Regions from separate parts of the Homo sapiens genome. Here all the other regions are linked to region 1. Evidence: promoter capture Hi-C in 16 types of primary human blood cells and fetal thymus (Javierre and others, 2016). All regions are on one chromosome and are shown on one strand. Each heading gives the region's core, a stretch centred on a gene start or on the middle of the fragment in contact. The rest is flanking DNA. Distances are from core to core; before and after follow the strand shown. Region 1 holds the start of PCDHA2 (protocadherin alpha 2). Region 2 overlaps PCDHGA1 (protocadherin gamma subfamily A, 1). Region 3 overlaps PCDHGA1 (protocadherin gamma subfamily A, 1). Region 4 holds the start of PCDHGB4 (protocadherin gamma subfamily B, 4). Region 5 overlaps PCDHGA1 (protocadherin gamma subfamily A, 1). Region 6 overlaps DIAPH1 (diaphanous related formin 1). Region 7 holds the start of PCDHGB2 (protocadherin gamma subfamily B, 2).

Region 1 (2,700 bases), core at 159-2,658:
GAGCCCCCGTCCCGTGCGGTCACCACCAGCTCATAGGCTGACACGCTCTCGCGGTCCAGGGCGCTGTCCAGCACCAACGAGTAGTAATTCTTGAAGGTGGACACCAGCTTGAAAGGGACGTGGGGCGTCAGGGAGCAGGTGACATGTCCATTCGTACCAGAGTCGCGATCCGACACCGTGATGAGAGCAATGACAGTGCCCAGGGAAGCGTTCTCTGAGATGGGAAGTGAGAGAGACGTTATTGAGACTTCTGGTGTGTTATCATTGATGTCCACAAGTTTTAATGAAATTTTACAATGTCCTGACATTGAAGGGGTTCCTTTGTCAGTTGCAGTGACCTGAATCTCGTAGGACTTTGCTTCTTCATAATCTAATTTTCCCTTAGTTCTGATTTCCCCTGAGATGGGATCTATGGTAAACTTAGTCTGTATAGTGGAGGACACATCACTACCGAGTGAATACACAATCTCGCTGTTCGGTCCTTCATCTGCATCAGAAGCGTTTAACTTAACCACTAAGGTCCCATTTGCCGTATTCTCTAACAATTTTACTTTGTAAACTGATTGGGCAAAAGTTGGTTCATTGTCATTTACATCTAATACCTTAATAAGTATTTGAACGGTGCCCGTGAGCTCAGGTTTGCCCCCATCAGTAGCCACCAGTAACAAATTAACCTCAGCAGTTTCCTCTCTGTCCAGCGATTTCCCCAGCACGAGAGACAAAGATTCGCTTAGTTCATCATTTGCCTGTATATCTAGGAAGAAAAACTCACTGGAGCTGAGCTTGTAGGAGAGAAGAGCATTTACTCCTATATCTGCATCAGATGCTCCCTCTAGAGGAAACCGAGAATCAAGCAGCCTTGATTCGGGAAACCGGATAGTCTTTACTGTCATTGGAAATATTGGCGGGTTGTCGTTAATGTCCTTCACCTCCACTTCCACATGGAAAACCTGCAGCGGCCTGTCCACGATCACCTCCACGTGGATGCTACATTCCGCGCTCCGCCCGCACAGCTCCTCCCGGTCGATCCGAGAATTCACAAACAAAATGCCATTCTGCAGATTTACCTCCAGAAGGTCCCCGTGTCTTTTGGACGCCACCCGGAACAGGCGCGGCACCAGCTCCTCCAGCTCCAGCCCCAGGTCCTGCGCGATGCGGCCCACGAAGGTGCCGTGTTTGGCCTCCTCGGGGACGGAGTAGCGGAGCTGGCCGCTCCCCACCTCCCAGGCTGCGAGGAGCAGAAGCGAGAGCAGCCGTGTCCAGGCCCCTCGGCCCCTTCTGATAGAAGACGCCATTACCAATCCTCAATGTTTTGATCAAATTAGAAGAGCATGTTTTGCAAAAATTTAAATATTCTAGTCTCTGTTAAAGTCCTGCTGCTTCTCTTATTCCTCCGCTTCTCTGAAGTAACAAAGGGGCTCTGGGTATTTTCCTTCCTAGAGAACACTCTATGGTGGACAGCGACATCATGTGGCTAAAAGGAAGGCTCTACTGTTTATTCTGTAGATTTAAAACTAGTCGATTTTCTGGTTTAAGTTTACTCATAGCTTTCATCTTGGAAAAAAATAACTATTTTAAGCCCTAAAATATATTACCTTTTTACCCTTTTTTACTCTGGTTAAAAAACACACAACATAATATTTAAAATTACCATATTAACTATGATTAAATGTACATTTCAGTAATGTTAAGTATATTCACATTGTTACAAATTTTTCATCTTGGAAAACAGAAACTCTATACCCATTAGACAACAACTCCGCTTTTCACCGTCACTCCAGTCTCTGGTAACCACAGTCCTATTTTCTATTTCTATGAATTTCACTACTTTAGATATTTCGTGTAAGTGGACTCGTAAAGTATTTGTCTTTTTGTGACTGGCCTATTTCACTTAGCACAATGTCCTCAAGGTTCATCCATGTTGTAGCATGTGACAAGATTTATTTCCTTTTTAAGGCTGAATACTAGTCCATCGTATGTATACACCACGTTTTGTTTATTCATTCAAGCATCCGTGGATGGTTCCTCAAGGTTCATCCATATTGTAACATGTGACAGGACTTCTTTCCTTTTTAAGGCTGAATAATAGTCCAACATATGTATACACCACGTTTTGTTTATTCATTCAAGTATTCGTGGACATTTGAGTTGCTTCCATTTCTTGACTGTTGTGAACAGTGCTGCCATGAACATGGGTGTGCATATATTTCTTTGAGACCCTGCTTTCAATTCTTTTGGATATATTAGCATTTTTCACTATTTCTTCAAATGAAGAACATAGTAATCAAAGGTATTTTAGTCCATTGAAAATATATGTGTATATATACTGTTGTTTTGTGATTTAATTTTGATTTTTGAATTGTTTGCAAATGTTTTGAAATTAATAATTTATTTGTTTCTCATTTGGATAATGTACTATTACTTTAGAATATTCCTTTTCCATTACATTTAGACTTTTATGCAAGAACAATACAATCGATCTCTTTTTTTGTGTTAATTACTTGAGAATATCTTCTTTTGTTAATTTTTAGCTGATCCCTTCACAGTAAAAAAATGAAAATAGAATAAAGATAAGATGAGGATGAAATAAAATGAATCAAGGAGTGGGATAGCATACAAAATCCATAATAAAGGGTCACCTTCAGTTACTCTAACCATGTCACCAATTTTGTTTTCAGCTTCCTAGAGCAAAGAGAGAAG
Region 2 (2,700 bases), core at 1-2,500, 630 kb before region 1:
CCAAGAAACATCACAGGAAAAAAATTTATTCCTCAATTAAAATATCTCAATGACAGCAGTATCATAATACCCACTTTTCACACGTGTGTGTGTGTGTGTGTGTGTGTGTGTGTGTGTGTATAAACAATGTCTCCGGGCCGGGTGCAGTGGCTCACGCCTATAATCCCAGCACTTTGGGAGGCCGAGGCGGGCAGATCACGAGGTCAGGAAATCGAGACCATCCTGGCTAACACGGTGAAACCCCGTCTGTACTAAAAATGCAAAAAATTAGCCGGGCGTGGTGGCGGGCGCCTGTAGTCCCAGCTACCCGGGAGGCTGAGGCGGGAGAATGGCCAGAACCCGGAAGGCAGAGCTTGCAGTGAGCCGAGATCATGCCACTGCACTCCAGCCTGGACCACAGAGCGAGACTCCGTCCAAAAAAAAAAAAAGTCTCCCGTAAAAATGGTGAAAATGTTTCAAAAATACATGAAAGCTAATAATGAAGTTACTGGCCCACACAGAAAGGAACAGGAAATATTAAGAGTGGGCAAACAAACCTGAAGCAATAGTAGATATAATATGTTTAAGATTTTCTTGCCAAAATATTGGTTTGAAAATTAAACCTCATCCATTTGTAAATGAAAGACATTCATTGGAACTCACGTGAGTAGGAGCAACAGAGTTAGAGCTTATCTTGTTATTCTCTTCAGTGAAGCTTGCTACCAGAGAAACTTCATTAGAAAGATCTTGTGGGGGGACTGTTTCTGGTGTCATGGTGAGAAAATTAAATCTTCTTTTTCTAGAATCCGAGGGAACATACAGATTGCAGGAATAAAGCAAAGTTCCCTCATTGTAGTTGGGAAAAACCCCTGGTCTAGTCTTAGAACAGAGACCAGGGTGAAAGCAACCCCAGGCAGAGGGGCTGGAAGAGCATCGCAGGTGCAAGGCGACCGCCAAAATCACTGCGAGGAAGAAGAGCATAGAAATCAAGGCCAAGGCCACGACCAGGTAAATCTGCAGCTTTGCTTGGGAATCAGAGGGCACAGGACTGTCACTGAAGTCTGGCAGTGCCTCCTGCAGGCTGTCTGCGAAGACTAGGTGAAGCGTAGCGGCGCAGAGAGCGGCGGCTGTCCTCCGTCACGCACAGCAACCAGCAGGTTCCCGTGTGCAGCCCCAGGCTGAAAAGCCCGGGCTCGATGGCCTGCAGCACGTGGTAGGACAGCCAAGCGTTGTGTCCCGAATCTGCGTCCACCGCCACCACCTTGGTCACCAGGTAGCCGGACTCTGCGGCGCGTGGCACTATATCGAAGAGTGCGGAGCCATCGGGCCCCAGCGCGGGGTACAGCACCCGCGGCACATTGTCATTGAGGTCGCCCACCAACATGCGCCGGCTCATGTTGGCGCTGAGCGCGGGCGAGCCCTGGTCGTGGGCCTGCATCGTGAGCTCGAAGGCGCACAGCTGCTCGTGGTCGAAGGCACGCTGCGCGACCACCACCCCGCTCTGTGCGCTCACGGACACGTAGGACGACAGTGCCCGCAGCTCCAAGTCAGTGGTAACGATGGAGTAGGAGACTTGGCCATTCAGCCCTAGGTCCAGGTCAGAGGCGCTGACTTGTGGGATGGAGGCTCCGGGAAGGTTGTTTTCGGCCACGTGGACCACGTAGGAGACTTGGTGGAAAACCGGAGCATTGTCGTTGACTTCACCAATGCGTAGGGTGAGGCTTGTGCTGGATGAGAGCGGAGGCTTGCCCTTGTCAGTGGCAGTGATGGTGACGTTGTACTCCGGGATCCGCTCCCAATCCAGGGTCCCATCTGTTACAAGCTTATAGTCATTATTGGCGGAAGATTCGATTCTAAAAGGAACTCTTTCGTTTATGAGGCATGTAACCTCCCCATTTTCTCTCGAATCTTTATCATGTGTTTTGAACAGAGTGATCACCGTCCAGGGTTCTGCGTCCTCAGTTACAGAACTGGACACTGAAGTAAAAACCACGTCTGGGGCATTGTCATTCTCATCTAGGATTTCTAGTATAATTTTACATTCGCTGGTCATGCCTCCACCATCCTTAGCTTCTACTCTCATGGTATAACTGCTACGAAATTCGAAGTCTATTAAGTCTTTGGATTTAATTTCCCCATTTTGATGGTCTAGCACAAACATATTTCCAATATCATCTCGTAGGGATTTGAAAGAGTAGGTGATCTCCGCATTGACACCCTCATCCTGGTCAGTGGCTGTCACCTTTAGTACAGAGGTGCCTGGGGGCACATTCTCTCTAAGGCTGACTTTGTATACATCCTGGCTAAAAACTGGGGCATTATCGTTGGCATCAGTGACCTCAATTTGAATTGCAGCAGTGCCAGTTGGGACTGGGTCACCCATGTCCATTGCTTCCAGGACCAGGAGATGAGAGCTCTGTTGCTCCTGGCCCAGGGGCTTCTCCAGCACTAATTCTGGAGCGTTCTTGCCTTTAGTCTTGTCCATCATCAGAGAGAAATGTTCATTAGAACTGAGCTGGTAACTCTGGAGAGAGTGAGGCCCTACATCTGCATCTATAGCAGATTCCAGGCCAAACCGAATGCCTGGAATTGCTAGTTCATTGATTTGTAAAACAATGCTATTTTGGGGAAAATGAGGTGGGTTATCATTTATATCTTCTATCATCACATTTATGTGAAAAACATTTAGAGGATTCTCTGCTACAATCTCTAAGGGTATGA
Region 3 (2,700 bases), core at 37-2,536, 650 kb before region 1:
TGGAACAGTTCTAACTTCCTGGGGGGGAAAATTCTACCATCATTCATACTGTTGGTTTCAACTTTAAAATGCTAAGGACTCTATAGGATGTTTAAGGTATGTGTGGACATAGAATCCTCCAAGTGTACTCATAACATTAAAACCCAACAATTTTGTTATGATTGTTATGCATCTTTTATCCTAAACATTCCTTCTATGCAGTTTTACAGATGGTGAAGAAAAACTGAGGTTAAAAATTTCCTCCGGGTGCGGTGGCTCACGCCTGTAATCCCAGCACTTTGGGAGGCCGAGGTGGGCAGATCACCAGGGTCAGGAGTTTGAGACCAGCCTGACCAATATGATGAAACCCGTCTCTACTAAAAATACAAAAATTAGCCGGGTGTGGTGGCATGTGCCTGTAGTCCCAGCTACTTGGGAGGCTGAGACAGAAGAATCACTTGAACCCGGGAGGCGGAGGTTGCAGTGAGCCGAGATCAAGCCATTGCACTCCAGCCTGCGCGACAAGAGCAAGACCCCGCTTAAACAAAAACAAAAACAAAAAACAAACAAACAAAAAAATCCATGGAGCACATATAATCATGTGAAAGAAAATTAAACAACAAAAATTAAAACAGCCTGACACATTTTAATAGAATTCCAGACACAGAAAAAAAACAAAACAAAACTGAACACTAGGACTAGTCTGAAGAGTGGAGTATGAATTAGACAGCAAATTTCCCTGGGTGCTGGATGTTTCTTACAGTGAAAAAGAGATCAGGAAGATAAATAAAACACAAAAGTAGCTCAGCCATGAACCCCAAAACATACCAGTGTAGAGCTATCAGGAAGCTTATTATGCTCAGCCTTATAAGGATCTACCCATCTGACTAGATGATCACAATGGAAGAACTCAGAGTAAAAGAATGGTAACCGGCTGGGCGCGGTGGCTCACGCCTGTAATCCCCACACTTTGGGAGGCCGAGGCGGGCAGATCAGAGTTCGAGACCAGCCTGGCCAATATGGTGAAATGCTGTCTTGTACTAAAAATACAAAAATTAGCCAGGCGTGGTGGTGCACGCCTGTAGTCCCAGCTACTCAGGAGGCTGAGGCAGAAGAATCACTTGAACCTGGGAGGCAGAGATTGCAGTGAGCAGAGATAGGGCCACTGCACTCCAGCCTGGGTGACAGAGCGAGACTCCATCTCAAAAAAAAAAAAGAATGATGACCATATGTCTAATCACACACTGAATATCTGCACTGTTTCTCAGATCCTTCAAATGAACATGGCTGGAACTCAACTCGATTTCTCTTAAATCTATCATTCTTTAGTCTTCCATTCTCATCAAATGGTAGCTTTGTCCATCCAGTTCCTTAATGTGGAAACCCAGGAATCACTCTTAATCCCTGCTCCCCATTTATCCATTGTATTTATTCAGTTAATAATATTTCACTGAAGATCTACCACTTGCCAGGCAACACAACAATATTTTCAGACACCTAGGAATATAATAATAAACAAAACACCCCCTGCCCTCATGAAATTTATATTCCACCTATTCCATTATTAAGTCTTATTGAACCCATTTCCTAAATATATCTATAATTCATCCATTTATTTCTACATCCACTGCCTCCCCTTTAATCCAAGCCAGCTCTTCTTCCATTTCTTACCAGGAATATTGCCATAGTCTCCTATCTTATCTTCCTATTTCTATTTATAACCCTCATAAATCAATTCTCCATATAGCAGCCAGAGTAAGCTTAATAATTCAAATATCTTGTCACTGCCTTGTTTAAAATATTTTAATAGCTCCTAAGTACAAGGGTATTTAGAACAAAATCCAGAATTTTAAGTGTGATTTACAAGGCTCTCCCTGCCTTATTAGTTTCATCTATTTATTTTCTGTTTCTAGCCTCCCTAGCCCTTTTAAATTGCTTGAGTCACACCTTTTATTTTTTAAAAAGATCTTTACACATGCTATTTCCTCTGCCTGACAATTTCTTTTTTACTTTCCTTGTTACCTAGATAACTTCTACTCATCCTATTAATCTATTCATCTCTCTAAATATCACTTTCCGAAAAAAAGAAAGCCTTCCTTGACCTTCAGATTAGGCGAAGCTTCCCTACTATAAGCTTTCTCTTAGTGCTTTTGTATTTCTCCTTGTTGGCTTTTATCAGACCTGTAAAATATCATGTATTAGAATAGGGCCCATTAACTCAGGAATCATATATGCCTTGTTCATTGCTGCATCCTTAGTCCATAGGTCAGTGCCTTGCATATAGCAGACAGTTAATAAATATTTGTTATGTAAATGAATGAATGAACCACCCAGGACCAGACTTGGGCAGACACCAATGTTTACTGTTTCTGGATGGGTTCTCTCAACCTACAAACTGAAGAGAATGGAAGCCTGAACTTATGCAGAGTGGTTTCGACTTATATTCTCACACAATATAGTGTAAGAATAGAGCACTTTGCACCTCTTACTTTTCAAAAGCATATAGAATACATAAAAACATAGTTTTTCATTTTTCTGTAAACTAGAAATGAACAATTAGAAGATACAATTTTAAAAATACTATTTACAATAACATTAGAAAACATCAAATATGTAGGGACAATTTAATGAGAAATATACATGACCTCTCTACACTGAAAACTATACAACATAGCTGAGAGAAATTAAAGACCTAATTAAATGGAAATATATACCATGTTC
Region 4 (2,700 bases), core at 84-2,583, 590 kb before region 1:
ACAAGTCACTTCTCCATTGTGTCTGGAATCCTTGTCACGGACTTTGAGCAAAGCAATATGTGTTCCCAGCTCGGCGTCCTCCATAATTAGGTTGGGTAGAGACTGGAATATCACTTCTGGGGCGTTGTCATTTTCATCTATGACTTCTACCTCCACTGTGCATTGCGCAATCATTCCTCCACCGTCCCTTGCTTCCAAAACTATGGAATATTCTTTGACTTCTTCAAAATCTAATGTATTTAAAACAGTAATTTCCCCGGTGTTAGAGTTCAGGTCAAATTGGGTGATCTGGCTAGCTTCACTGAAAGAGAAAGTAATCTCGGCATTGACACCCTCATCCTGGTCCGTGGCAGTCACCTGTAGCACCGTGGTCCCCGGGTACACGTTTTCTGAAAGGCTCACCCTGTATACGTCTTGACTGAACACTGGAGCATTATCATTGGCATCAGTCACTAGAACGTGTATCTGTGCAGTGCTGCTTAGGGGTGGAGCTCCAAAGTCCAAGGCAGTCAAAGTCAAGTGGTAGGATTTCTGCTTTTCTCTGTCCAAAGGTGTCTTCAATACCATCTCAGGGTATTTACTGCCATCTGATTTCTCTTTATTTATCAGTGAGAAATGATCACTGGGACTGAGTTGGTAATTCTGCAGTGTGTTGCTACCAATATCCGCATCATGGGCAGATCCTAATATAAATCGTGTGCCAGGCTGTGCAGACTCACTTATTTGCAGCTCAAAGGAATTTTGCGTGAATTTTGGCGTGTGGTCATTAATGTCCTCGATCTCCACATTCACGTGATAAAAGTTCAGTGGATTTTCAGCAACAGCCTCAAATTCCAGAGCACAAGCTGGCTTCTTCCCGCATATCTCCTCCCTGTCTAGCCTGCTGCTCACAAGCAACTCCCCGCTCTCTGCGCTCACGGTGAAGTAAGGCTTCTCCGAACTGACGCGCAGTTTTCGAGTCGGTAACTCCTGGACGCTGAACCCCAGGTCCGTGGCGAGGTTCCCCACTACGGAGCCCTTGGGCATTTCCTCGGGAATCCTGTAGCGGATCTGCTCACAGAGCGCCGGGCAGAACAAAGACAGCAGGAAGAGAAAGAGCACTGGCAGCCTCTCAGCCCGGCCCAGCTCCCCGGCGCCGCTCCCCATCCCTCTTGCTCTCCTCAGCTTGCTCACCAGCCTGGAGACGCCGGGTTACAAATAACCTCTGTATTGCAGATTTTTGGATCTCCGAACGGACTTTAGTTGCAGTTCCAGTTCAAGAAAAAATTCTTCTTTTTCCGAGGAGGAAGCGGTGTAAAGGCTGGCGCTGGGGAGTCTGAGCTGGGGCTGCCCTGGAAAGCGCGCTGCGGCTGCGCGAGGAGATCTGGAGCGCCAAGCTCTCCACTTTGGCCAACAGCGGCGCCCAGAGTCAGCACTAGGAAACTACAGCCTCTGCTGCTTCAAGTTAACCAGTGCAATAATTATAATTGTGTGCCTAACTGAAAGAACAAAAACTACGTGGATACGTCTGTATATTTAATGACGTCTAAAAATGTACTCTTAGGAATGCCTTCATCCCAACTTTGAGGATTTTTAGGCAAATCATGTAGATTAAGTACATAAACATTTATTGACATAAGCTTTCCCCAATCTTCAAACATGCACTATCTATATAAAGATAGCCATAACACAGACTTGGCCTAAACCGTCTCAGAGTACAGTAATTTTCCATACTTACTCATTAGAAATATACTGGATACATTTTATCTTTCTTTCATTGTTCCTAACATTTTCTCCACTTTTCTAAGTACCTCCAAGTTGATTTATTTCAACTTTTTCCGGAGAGTATCAGTAATACCAAAATTGCCTTTTAGAAGGTGCAATTTATACTTATCTTCAAATACACCCCCTTCCCAATAGTTTCAGTGATTTCATTACAGGAATATTATGTGATTCTCATTTCGATGATCACAGGCAGTAGCCTACTCCTCTCCTCATTACACAATTATTTTACTGGTTATGAAATACAACATTCATCTTCAAAGTTATCAGGGGGATAATACATAGCCTCAAAACACAAAGTCACTGAGATCTGCTGCACTGAAGCACTGCTTCCTACCTCTGCACTTATTTTACATTCCTTGGTGACCTCTGAATTGAAGGAAACAATCCCTGGAAAGTTTGATTGCAATAGCTCACTGAGTTTAGTGATTATGTCTCTCCATTGCTTAAAAACAATTTTATGCATCTAATAAATTTTGGTCAGGAGATTTTCTTTTACAAAATACCTTATAACCGTAGTTCTGCCATAGGATCTTCCCTCAGTAACATTGTTGGTGTCAGCAACATTGTCTTCTACCCCAAGTGATTGTACATCTGAAATGTGAACACTGCAGAACTTGTAAAATGTATCCAGCCTGGGTGACAGAGCGAGACTCCATGTCAAAAAAAAAAAATGTATCCCCCACACTATTGTACAGAGTCTATCATGTGCAAAATACTACCAAATACAACACTAGTCTAAAAAGAGTCTTTTTTTGAAGAGACAGAGTCTTGTTATATTATCTAGGTGGGCCTCCAATTCTTGGGTTCAAGCTGTCCTCTTGCCTCAGCCTCCCATGCAGGTGGGCTACAGCTTGCAACACCATACCTGGCTAAAAGTGTGTTTTTAATTAATACTCAAAGGTCTCTGGAATCAAGATTACCTTGTCATCCACCCCT
Region 5 (2,700 bases), core at 100-2,599, 610 kb before region 1:
GACAGCAGCCCGGTTTTTCATTTTGAATTCGGTCTCCGAAATGTATATATTCTTCGAAAATGCAGGTGTACATCCCCCTCAAATTTTGCTCTCACCATAATATTATAGTAGATATTTCTATGCTTTGTGTTTTAAATAAATCTATTATGCACAATTTCAAACTTATACAACAGTAGGGAGTATATATAGTGAACCTTCACATAGCCATCACCCCACCTTCAACAATGATCACCACAAAGCCAATCTTTGTTTAATATATACTGCGCTCCCCCATTATTTTTAAGTAATACGAGATATAGAATGTCAACCAATGCTTCTTTTTAAGATGAGACATTAAGGTCAAGAATTTTATCTTTCAGCTTATGTTCTACAATCTGTTACCAATGCACAATAAGTTAAGTCCTACATAGCCTAAGAAAAACAGAAATAAAGATTTTCCATACTCCATTCAGTCATCTGTCTGGTGAGCCTCGTGTTCTGGTTTTAAGGGCAAGAGACATTTTTGTGGTATCGAATAGTAACTACCTACCATGACATACAAGCCTTCATGGATATCTGTTATGTTTTCCCCAAATTAACATACATTTCAATATTTATAAATACTAAGTATGAAGGCTACTCCTCAGAACAGAAATTGTAACAATTTTCTTGTTGCATGGTTAAAAATATGAGCCTGAAGTATGCTTTATTTTTTTTGCTACCCACTTAAGGGGGAAAACGTGTTTGAAATAATTAAAATGTCTGTATGTCATAAAGGATTCCCAGACACTTCAGCTTTTTTTTCTTAAAAATAAAGCAACTGAAACCCAAATAATTACAAACAAATAAAACAATTCTTCATTTCCACAGAAATGCCAGCAGTCATCAGTGTATCTATGGATCACATGTTTAGCATAGAATTTTGAGTCAACTTCAAAGCTTATTTTCAAATGTCTTGTGAAATGTTATTTACTATTTGAAACAACACTATGTTTAAAATAACATTAAATAATACATTATTCTCTTCCTTATAGCTAAAAACAGTAAAATAGTTTTAGAATCTTCCCAGCAGTTCCTGAGAATATTTTCTTAAATTATATCTGATATGCAAGTTCATTTCTAGACTCAAAAGTTGGAGAATTGAGCCAGAAATAATATATAAGTGAGAGAAATATTTTTAATTCCTTGTTTTGTCATTTCACAGTGTCCAGTCTTAGAAACTTCTCTTGAGCAAGCATATACTATAGAAAAGAAGAATGTCCTACTATTCTCCATAATTTAACATTAAAGCATTAGGAAATTAAGACCTTTGAAGATATGAGAATAAAAGATGTGACAACTTTCACCATTAAAGGGAAAAAATTGGTTTACTAGGGTTTGGAAGTGGATAACTGAAGTTTGAATCTTCGTCAGAAAATATCTGTAAACACAAACAGACTTTACACACTTGTGATCTGAAAAATATAACCTCAAAGAGGTGTTTTCCTGTCATAGAAATGGAAGAATAGAAGCAATAAATCTGGGCTTTCAGCTGTTTCTCTAAGAAGAATACATTTACCTTTTTATCAGTTTACCCTTACAAACATAGTATGACCTGAATAAATGATCGTAGGAGTAAGAATTTGCTGGGTGAGGTGGTTCACACCTCACCCAGTGCTTTGGGAAACTGAAGCAGGAAGATCGTTTGAGACCAGTCTGGGCAACATAGCTTGCTAGCCCTCCCACCTCAGTCCTAGCTACTGTGAAGGCTGAGGTGGGAGGATTGCATAAGCCCAGGAGATTGAGACTGCAGTAAGCTTTACCCACACCACTGCATTCCACCCTGGACAACAGAATGACACCCCCATCTCTTAAAAAAAAAAAAAAAGGAGTAAGAATTTTATGATATGAGTCCACTGCAACCAATGAAGCAACCCTACCCAAAAAGCCCACATCAATGCAGGCTGAGAGCTACCCCATGAAGTATGGTTTACGTTGACAGCAGGTTAATTATTATGAGAACATGAAAGTTATATCAGCAAATATAACTAATAAATGCCTCCTTTCAGTGTTGGAGCAACAATTAGGCCCAGTGAAAAGTGATGAGAAACACACTGATATCAACTTATACTACCTTAAGTACAGACAGTTAAAGAGAAAGCTAACTATAATAGAAAGTTAAGGGCCAGGCGCAGTGGCTCACGCCTGTAATCCCAGTGCTTTGGGAGGCTGAGGTGGGTGGATCACTTGAGGTTAGGAATTCAAGACCAGCCTGGCCAACATGGTGACACCCCGTCTCTACTAAAAACACACAAAAAATTAGCCGGGCGTGGTGGCACGTGCCTGTAGTCCCAGTTATTCTACTTGGGAGGCCTGTAGTCCCAGCTACTCTACTCTAGTCCCAGCTACTCTACTTGGGAGGCTGAGGCAGGAGAATCGCTTGAATTTGGGAGGCGGAGGTTGCAATGAGCCGAGATCACACCACTGCATTCCAGCCTGGGTAACAGAGTAAGACTCTGTCTCAAAAACAAAACAAAACAAAAAACAAAAAAAGAAAAGAAAGAAAGAAAAAAAATGAACTCACCGGAACCAAAGGGGTGTCTTCTATAGGAAACTTGGAATCAACAGAGACGCACAAAGGCTCATTTTTCTCACAGCTCTGCTGGCTGATGAGTGTGTCTGCATAGTTGGGCTGGGGGAAGATCAGGTGACTCTTCCTTGAGTCAGCGGTGAGGGAGAACT
Region 6 (2,714 bases), core at 187-2,686, 760 kb before region 1:
TTTTGGTCCCTTATTTCACACAATTCTGTAAACTGAAATTACTCAGCCCTTGATGTTGTTTTTAGGGTGAGGGACAGCATGAGGCCTTTGTTCTGGACTTCTCATCTTTGCTCTTATGAAAATGGGGGCTGGAACCCAAGCATTGATAAGGTTGTATATTAGGTGCTTTAGTATCTGGATGATTAATTAGTGCACCATTCCTGTAAGAAGGCTGGGAAGGCAGCAAATGGGAGCATTCTATGGGTTCTACATTTGACTGCCTGTCTTTACTGCTGGTTGTCAGTGGGAGTTCTTCCTAACCCACCGTCAAAGTTGAACCAGGCCTACCTGTCTAAGGATATGAAAATAAAATAGGTGGTGCCCAGAGCCATATCTGTCTTACCTTTCTCACAGTTTCCTGTTTGGTGACAGTTTTTAAAATTTACACATAGTTACATTATCACACTATGTTAACAAATCAAACTGTTTTAATTTGTTCATATTCACTTGTAGTCTTTGCCTGTGCTGTATATATAGCATTTACATGGTTGTAATCAGAGGGGGACGTGTGTGTGTATCTTAGTTCTTCTTTATTTCAGGTCGAAGTGTACAACTCATTATGCAGCATTAAATTTCAAAAAATTTAAAAGGAAATTTACATTCATGTAATCAGGGTCTGAGACCAAGATGCCCTTTGTTATGTACCCCCCTTCCAGTTACAACTGAACCTCCACCCCCAACTCAGAGTACCCACCATCCTGAAGGGTTTTGCCTGTAGCTTTTGGTATATATACACATTGTCAAAGAAGTTTCTTCGATTTCTAATATGCTAAGACTATTTATTCTGAATGGATATTAAATTTGGTCAGGTTTTTTTTTGTATTGTTGAGATGATCATATAATTTTCTACTTTAATCTGTAATTGTGGGAAGCATATTAACTGATTTCTGTTACACCGATTTTGCATTCCTAAAACAAATCTAACTTGAATGTGATCTGTTATTATTTTTATTTTATACCCCTTAATTCACTTTGCTATTAGGAATTTTGTGCCTGTGTTTATGAGTGAAAGTACCTATGATTTTTTTGATACTGTTCTTTCACATTTTGATAGTGAAGTTATGCTAGCCTCACAACATGAGTTGAGAAAATATACTTCTATTCTGTGGAAAAATTTTTTGCGTAAAATTGGTGGAATTATTTATTCCTTGAGTGTTTGAAATAATAGCTGGTAAAGTCATCTGGGTCTCTGAAGAAATTTTTGATCACCGATTTAGTTCTTTTATGGTTATAGGACTGGTTTTTTCTTATTGGATAAGTTTTGATGTGTTATGTTTTTCTAGAAATTTATCAATTTTATCTAAATTTGCAGACATATTTTGTATGATATTATTCCTTTTTTTGGGGGGAGCGGGTGGGGATGGAGTTTTGCTCTTGTTGCCCAGGCTGGAGTGCGGTGGCACAATCTCGGCTCACTGCAACCTCTGCCTCTCAGGTTCAAGCGATTCTCCTGCCTCAGCCTCCCGAGTAGCTGGGATTACAAGCATGCACTACCATGCCTGGCTAATTTTGTATTTTGGTAGAGATGGGGTTTCACCATGTTGGTGAGGCTGATCTCAAACTCTTGGCTTCAGGTGATCTGCCCGCCTCAGCCTCCCAAAGTACTGGGATTACAGGCATGAGCCACCGCGCCCTGCCTGATATTATTCCTCTTAATGCTTGAGCCTGAGCCATATTTAGTTCAGTCCTGTATTTTGTTCCTGATGTTAGTTACTTATGCCTGATTTCTCTGTTTTTCTTTCTTGTTTTAAAATACTGAATTTAACTGGTCTTAAAAAAAATGTTTTAAGCCAAAACTGTTGGCTTCGTGAATCCCCTCTGCTACAGATTTCACTAATTTCTGTTCTTGTCTCTATCTTTAAATTTTTCTTTTGGTTTATTTTATTATTCTTATTCTAATTTTTTTAAATAGGTACTTACCTCTTTAGTTTTTAGTCTTTTTTCCCTGTCATATATGCATTTGAGACGATGTTTTCTTGGGGGGTTTTTTTGAGATAGAGTTTTGCTCTTGTTGCCCAGGCTGGAGTGCAGTGGTGTGATCTTGGCTCACCGCAACCTCTGCCTCCTGGGTACAAGCGATTCTCCTGCCTCAGCCTCCTGAGTAGCTGGAATTACATAGGCGCCCACCACCACGCCTGGCTAATTTTTTGTATTTTTAGTAGAGTTGGGGTTTCGCCATGTTGGGCAGGCCGGTCTCGAACTCCTGACCTCAGGTGATCCACCTGCCTTGACCTCCCAAAGTGCTGGGATTACAGGCGTGAGCCACCATGCCCGGCCGAGACTGTTTTTGTTTAAATTATTGTTTGGGACACATCTCTTAAGTTGTTTTTTTGAGACAGGGTCAAAAAAAAAAGACAGCCTGTCACCCAGGCTGGAGTGCAGTGGTGCGATCTTGGCTCACTGCAACCTCCACCTCCTGGGTTCAAGCAATTCTTCTGCCTCAGCTTCCCAGGTAGCTGGGGTTACAGGCGTGTGCCATGACACCCAGCTAATTTTTGTATCTTTAGTAGAGACAGGGTTTTTTCACCGTGTTGGCTAGGCTGGTCTTGAACTCCTAACCTTAAGTGATAGGCCCGCGTCAGCCTCCCAAAGTGCTGGGATTACAGGTGTGAGCCACCATGCCTGGCTCACATCCCTTAAGTCTTGATAGGAAGTGTATTCGTTTGCTAGGGCTG
Region 7 (2,700 bases), core at 133-2,632, 570 kb before region 1:
CCTCCCGGTCCAGAGCGCCGTCTGTCACTAGTTTGTAATAGTTCTTTGAGGAAGATTTCAAAATAAACTTGGCATTTCCCAACACTTGGCAGTAAACTTCTCCATTTTCTCCAGAGTCTCTGTCTCTCGTTTTTATCAAGGCGATCACTGTTCCTGGTGGCGAATCCTCCGGTAGGGGAGTAGATACTGAAGTCACAATAACTTCAGGTGCACAATCGTTGTCATCAAGAATTTCAACTTGGATACTGCAGTGGGCTGCTAGATCTCCAGGATCTTTTGCTTCGATACTCAGAGTGTAACTACTTGCAATCTCAAAATCCAAATCATCCTTTGTCGTGATTTCTCCTGTTTTTTCATTTAAGTTGAAAAAGTGTTTCACTTGTTCGTCCACATTATGAAAGGAGTAGGTGATCTCTGCGTTTATGCCTTCATCCCGGTCGGTGGCTGTCACTTGAAGCACAAAGAAGCCCGGCGGCACGTCCTCCCTCAGGGTGACCCTGTACACGTCCTGGCTGAACACTGGAGGGTTATCGTTGGCATCCGTGACTTTGATTCGGATTTGGGTCGTGCCACTTTGAGGTGGGTCTCCGCCATCCACAGCTGTGAGGACCAATTGATGTAAACTGTGCTCTTCTCTGTCCAGAGAGTGTTTTAGAATCAACTCAGGATATTTACGACCATCTGGAGTCTGTTTCTCAGCGAGATCAAAGTACTCGTTGTCATTAAGGTGGTATCTTTGTAGTGAGTTAGGACCAACATCTGAATCCAGGGCTGGGTCAAGTGGAAATGTTGTACCTGGCTTAGTGGATTCGCCAATTTTTAAATTAATCTTAGTCTGTTTGAATAGCGGGGTATTATCATTTATATCCTGCACAATTACTGCTATGTAGAAAATATTTAGTGGATTTTCAGCGACAGTATCGAAATCCAGAACACACAGAGGCTGCTTCCCGCATATCTGTTCTCGGTCTATTCTGTCACTCACAAGTAAGTCTCCGCTTTCTGGGTTTACTGTGAAATATTCCTTCTCCGCGCTAACCCGCAGCTTCCGGGCTGGCAAGTCCCGGACGCTGAGCCCCAGATCCTTGGCGAGGTTTCCTACGACCGAGTTTTTGGCCAGCTCCTCTGGAATTGAATAGCGGATCTGGACTGGGAGAGCCCCGGGGAACAAAGACAACAGGAAGGGCAACAGTACCTGCAGCCACCGCACCAGCCCGCACCTCCCTGAGCTCGCTTTCATCTTCTGGCTCCCTTTGCTCCTTTGCCCATAGGAGGAATAAGCCTTCCGGGGATGGCAGAATCCGGGCTAAGGTCACTTTTCCTGCTTTTGTTTTCTGTTTCCGAATCTATACTGGCCTTCTCTGTGTGGTTGGTTTGTGCAGGAAGTTCCCCTCTAAGAGGCTCCCAAACGCTTCTCTTCGTTCTTTTGACCAACAGCGACGCTCAGAGGTTTTCTCAGGAAACTGCACTAATGGCTTGTCAATATTTGCTAAGAACTTTTTTCTTTTCTTTTCTTTTTTAATTTATAAAGTCTTCATTTGTTTTAAAATATGTGAAATATTCATATAGTTCCAAATTCAAAAGATGCATTCAGCATAGGTTCTTCCTTTCATCTCTGCTTTAGATGAGGAGAAATGCTTTCACAGGGGAAATGAGTGTTAAAGTTTCTTAGGTATCCTTCCGGAGATATGTCTTGTATAGGGCAACGGATTTTTATAAATATTCTGTCTCCTTCTTTACACAAATGTAAGCATACAACATACCATATTCTGCACATTGCTTTTTTAGTTGTTATATCTTAAAGATCATATCAGTACATAGAGAGCTTTCCTATTTATTTCTTATAGTTATCTAGTGGCCCATAATATAGTTATCTAGTAGTCCGTAATATGAATATACAACAATTTGTTTAATCAAAATTGTTATTTGCTAAAAGAAACCCACTGCCCATTCTAACAAAAACACATTTTTTAAAAAATTTGATTTTAGGTTATAAATTATCTACTGCTTTCCTAGGCCTTTAAAACATGTGGCACTCTCATTCTGGAATATATTCCTAATGCCAACACCTGAATATGCTTGACACAGTTTCAGACCAATTGAGCATTTCCAAATTATATTTTATGGCTTAATTACTTTAAACAATCTCTCCTCAGATGTAAGTTGTCTCTCAACATTCACTTGTTATTTCTGCTTTCTGCTCCCCAAGCCAGGTAACTGCATCATATCATATTCCAGCTTACTCTATGTATTGCACCACAACTTTCTATGAATACAAAACCATGTAGAAACTAAAACTCTCCTTTGTAAGTCAAATTGAGGCATATTCCACAGTCTATCACTACAACTTCCAGTTATCAAATTACACTAATTTGTGTAAGCATATGCATTCATGAATTTTGAATTCTCACAGAACCTAAATGAAAGCACAAAGAACAAAAGTGTTGTATATCCCCTACACACAAAATATTTTCCCTCATATAAAATAATCCCAGAGCCACATGATGACAGAAATATCTGAAAGCAATTTGTAGCAATAGGGATGAGGCCACCTTACTAAGCAGCGTAAATCATATCAGTCCAGAACCCAAGTAACTCAACCTTTGAAAGAGGCTCACATGATGACAAGAGAAAAGACTCCAAAAACTTATATTTTCCTTGGAAATCAAGAAAGTCTCAATAGTGATGTCATGATAAGCA

What was found. The method cuts DNA at HindIII sites, captures the fragments that hold promoters and counts their contacts. A CHiCAGO score of 5 or more calls a contact.
Region 2: a contact is called between a fragment that was not itself captured here and the fragment with the promoter of PCDHA2 in region 1, in 4 of 17 cell types (erythroblasts, fetal thymus, M1 macrophages and 1 more). The highest score is 8.4, in erythroblasts.
Region 3: a contact is called between a fragment that was not itself captured here and the fragment with the promoter of PCDHA2 in region 1, in 1 of 17 cell types (erythroblasts). The highest score is 6.5, in erythroblasts.
Region 4: the fragment with the promoter of PCDHGB4 here is called in contact with the fragment with the promoter of PCDHA2 in region 1 in 10 of 17 cell types (M1 macrophages, erythroblasts, M2 macrophages and 7 more); the score reaches 15.8 in M1 macrophages.
Region 5: a contact is called between a fragment that was not itself captured here and the fragment with the promoter of PCDHA2 in region 1, in 6 of 17 cell types (erythroblasts, M1 macrophages, naive B cells and 3 more). The highest score is 8.5, in erythroblasts.
Region 6: a fragment that was not itself captured here is called in contact with the fragment with the promoter of PCDHA2 in region 1 in 1 of 17 cell types (M1 macrophages); the score reaches 6.8 in M1 macrophages.
Region 7: a contact is called between the fragment with the promoter of PCDHGB2 here and the fragment with the promoter of PCDHA2 in region 1, in 6 of 17 cell types (M0 macrophages, neutrophils, M1 macrophages and 3 more). The highest score is 10.2, in M0 macrophages.

What each region holds. Positions count from the first base shown.
Region 1 is chr5:140,793,560-140,796,259 of GRCh38, reverse strand. PCDHA2 (protocadherin alpha 2) reads right to left here and starts at 1,408. Exons shown (of 4, transcript NM_018905.3): 1 at 1-1,408. The coding sequence starts at 1,295. The region is part of intron 1 of PCDHA1 (protocadherin alpha 1); the gene reads right to left. It also overlaps PCDHA@. The HindIII fragment of the contact is 8,329 bases long and covers 1-2,700 here.
Region 2 is chr5:141,426,589-141,429,288 of GRCh38, reverse strand. The region is part of intron 1 of PCDHGA1 (protocadherin gamma subfamily A, 1); the gene reads right to left. All of the region lies in intron 1 of PCDHGA2 (protocadherin gamma subfamily A, 2), which reads right to left. The region is part of intron 1 of PCDHGA3 (protocadherin gamma subfamily A, 3); the gene reads right to left. All of the region lies in intron 1 of PCDHGB1 (protocadherin gamma subfamily B, 1), which reads right to left. It also overlaps PCDHGA4, PCDHGB2, PCDHGA5, PCDHGB3, PCDHGA6 and PCDHGA7, and 10 more genes. Among named protein-coding and RNA genes, the nearest start is that of PCDHGA12, 2.6 kb to the left of the region's middle. The HindIII fragment of the contact is 1,107 bases long and covers 697-1,803 here.
Region 3 is chr5:141,444,978-141,447,677 of GRCh38, reverse strand. All of the region lies in intron 1 of PCDHGA1 (protocadherin gamma subfamily A, 1), which reads right to left. All of the region lies in intron 1 of PCDHGA2 (protocadherin gamma subfamily A, 2), which reads right to left. All of the region lies in intron 1 of PCDHGA3 (protocadherin gamma subfamily A, 3), which reads right to left. All of the region lies in intron 1 of PCDHGB1 (protocadherin gamma subfamily B, 1), which reads right to left. It also overlaps PCDHGA4, PCDHGB2, PCDHGA5, PCDHGB3, PCDHGA6 and PCDHGA7, and 10 more genes. Among named protein-coding and RNA genes, the nearest start is that of PCDHGA12, 16 kb to the right of the region's middle. The HindIII fragment of the contact is 911 bases long and covers 831-1,741 here.
Region 4 is chr5:141,386,331-141,389,030 of GRCh38, reverse strand. PCDHGB4 (protocadherin gamma subfamily B, 4) reads right to left here and starts at 1,333. Exons shown (of 4, transcript NM_003736.4): 1 at 1-1,333. The coding sequence starts at 1,146. The region is part of intron 1 of PCDHGA1 (protocadherin gamma subfamily A, 1); the gene reads right to left. All of the region lies in intron 1 of PCDHGA2 (protocadherin gamma subfamily A, 2), which reads right to left. The region is part of intron 1 of PCDHGA3 (protocadherin gamma subfamily A, 3); the gene reads right to left. It also overlaps PCDHGB1, PCDHGA4, PCDHGB2, PCDHGA5, PCDHGB3 and PCDHGA6, and 2 more genes. The HindIII fragment of the contact is 3,088 bases long and covers 1-1,621 here.
Region 5 is chr5:141,405,219-141,407,918 of GRCh38, reverse strand. All of the region lies in intron 1 of PCDHGA1 (protocadherin gamma subfamily A, 1), which reads right to left. The region is part of intron 1 of PCDHGA2 (protocadherin gamma subfamily A, 2); the gene reads right to left. All of the region lies in intron 1 of PCDHGA3 (protocadherin gamma subfamily A, 3), which reads right to left. The region is part of intron 1 of PCDHGB1 (protocadherin gamma subfamily B, 1); the gene reads right to left. It also overlaps PCDHGA4, PCDHGB2, PCDHGA5, PCDHGB3, PCDHGA6 and PCDHGA7, and 5 more genes. Among named protein-coding and RNA genes, the nearest start is that of PCDHGB6, 1.5 kb to the left of the region's middle. The HindIII fragment of the contact is 857 bases long and covers 921-1,777 here.
Region 6 is chr5:141,552,960-141,555,673 of GRCh38, reverse strand. All of the region lies in intron 18 of DIAPH1 (diaphanous related formin 1), which reads left to right. Among named protein-coding and RNA genes, the nearest start is that of DIAPH1-AS1, 4.0 kb to the left of the region's middle. The HindIII fragment of the contact is 4,317 bases long and covers 1-2,714 here.
Region 7 is chr5:141,358,676-141,361,375 of GRCh38, reverse strand. It overlaps PCDHGB2 (protocadherin gamma subfamily B, 2), which reads right to left and starts at 1,382. Exons shown (of 4, transcript NM_018923.3): 1 at 1-1,382. The coding sequence starts at 1,240. All of the region lies in intron 1 of PCDHGA1 (protocadherin gamma subfamily A, 1), which reads right to left. The region is part of intron 1 of PCDHGA2 (protocadherin gamma subfamily A, 2); the gene reads right to left. The region is part of intron 1 of PCDHGA3 (protocadherin gamma subfamily A, 3); the gene reads right to left. It also overlaps PCDHGB1, PCDHGA4 and PCDHG@. The HindIII fragment of the contact is 22,324 bases long and covers 1-2,700 here.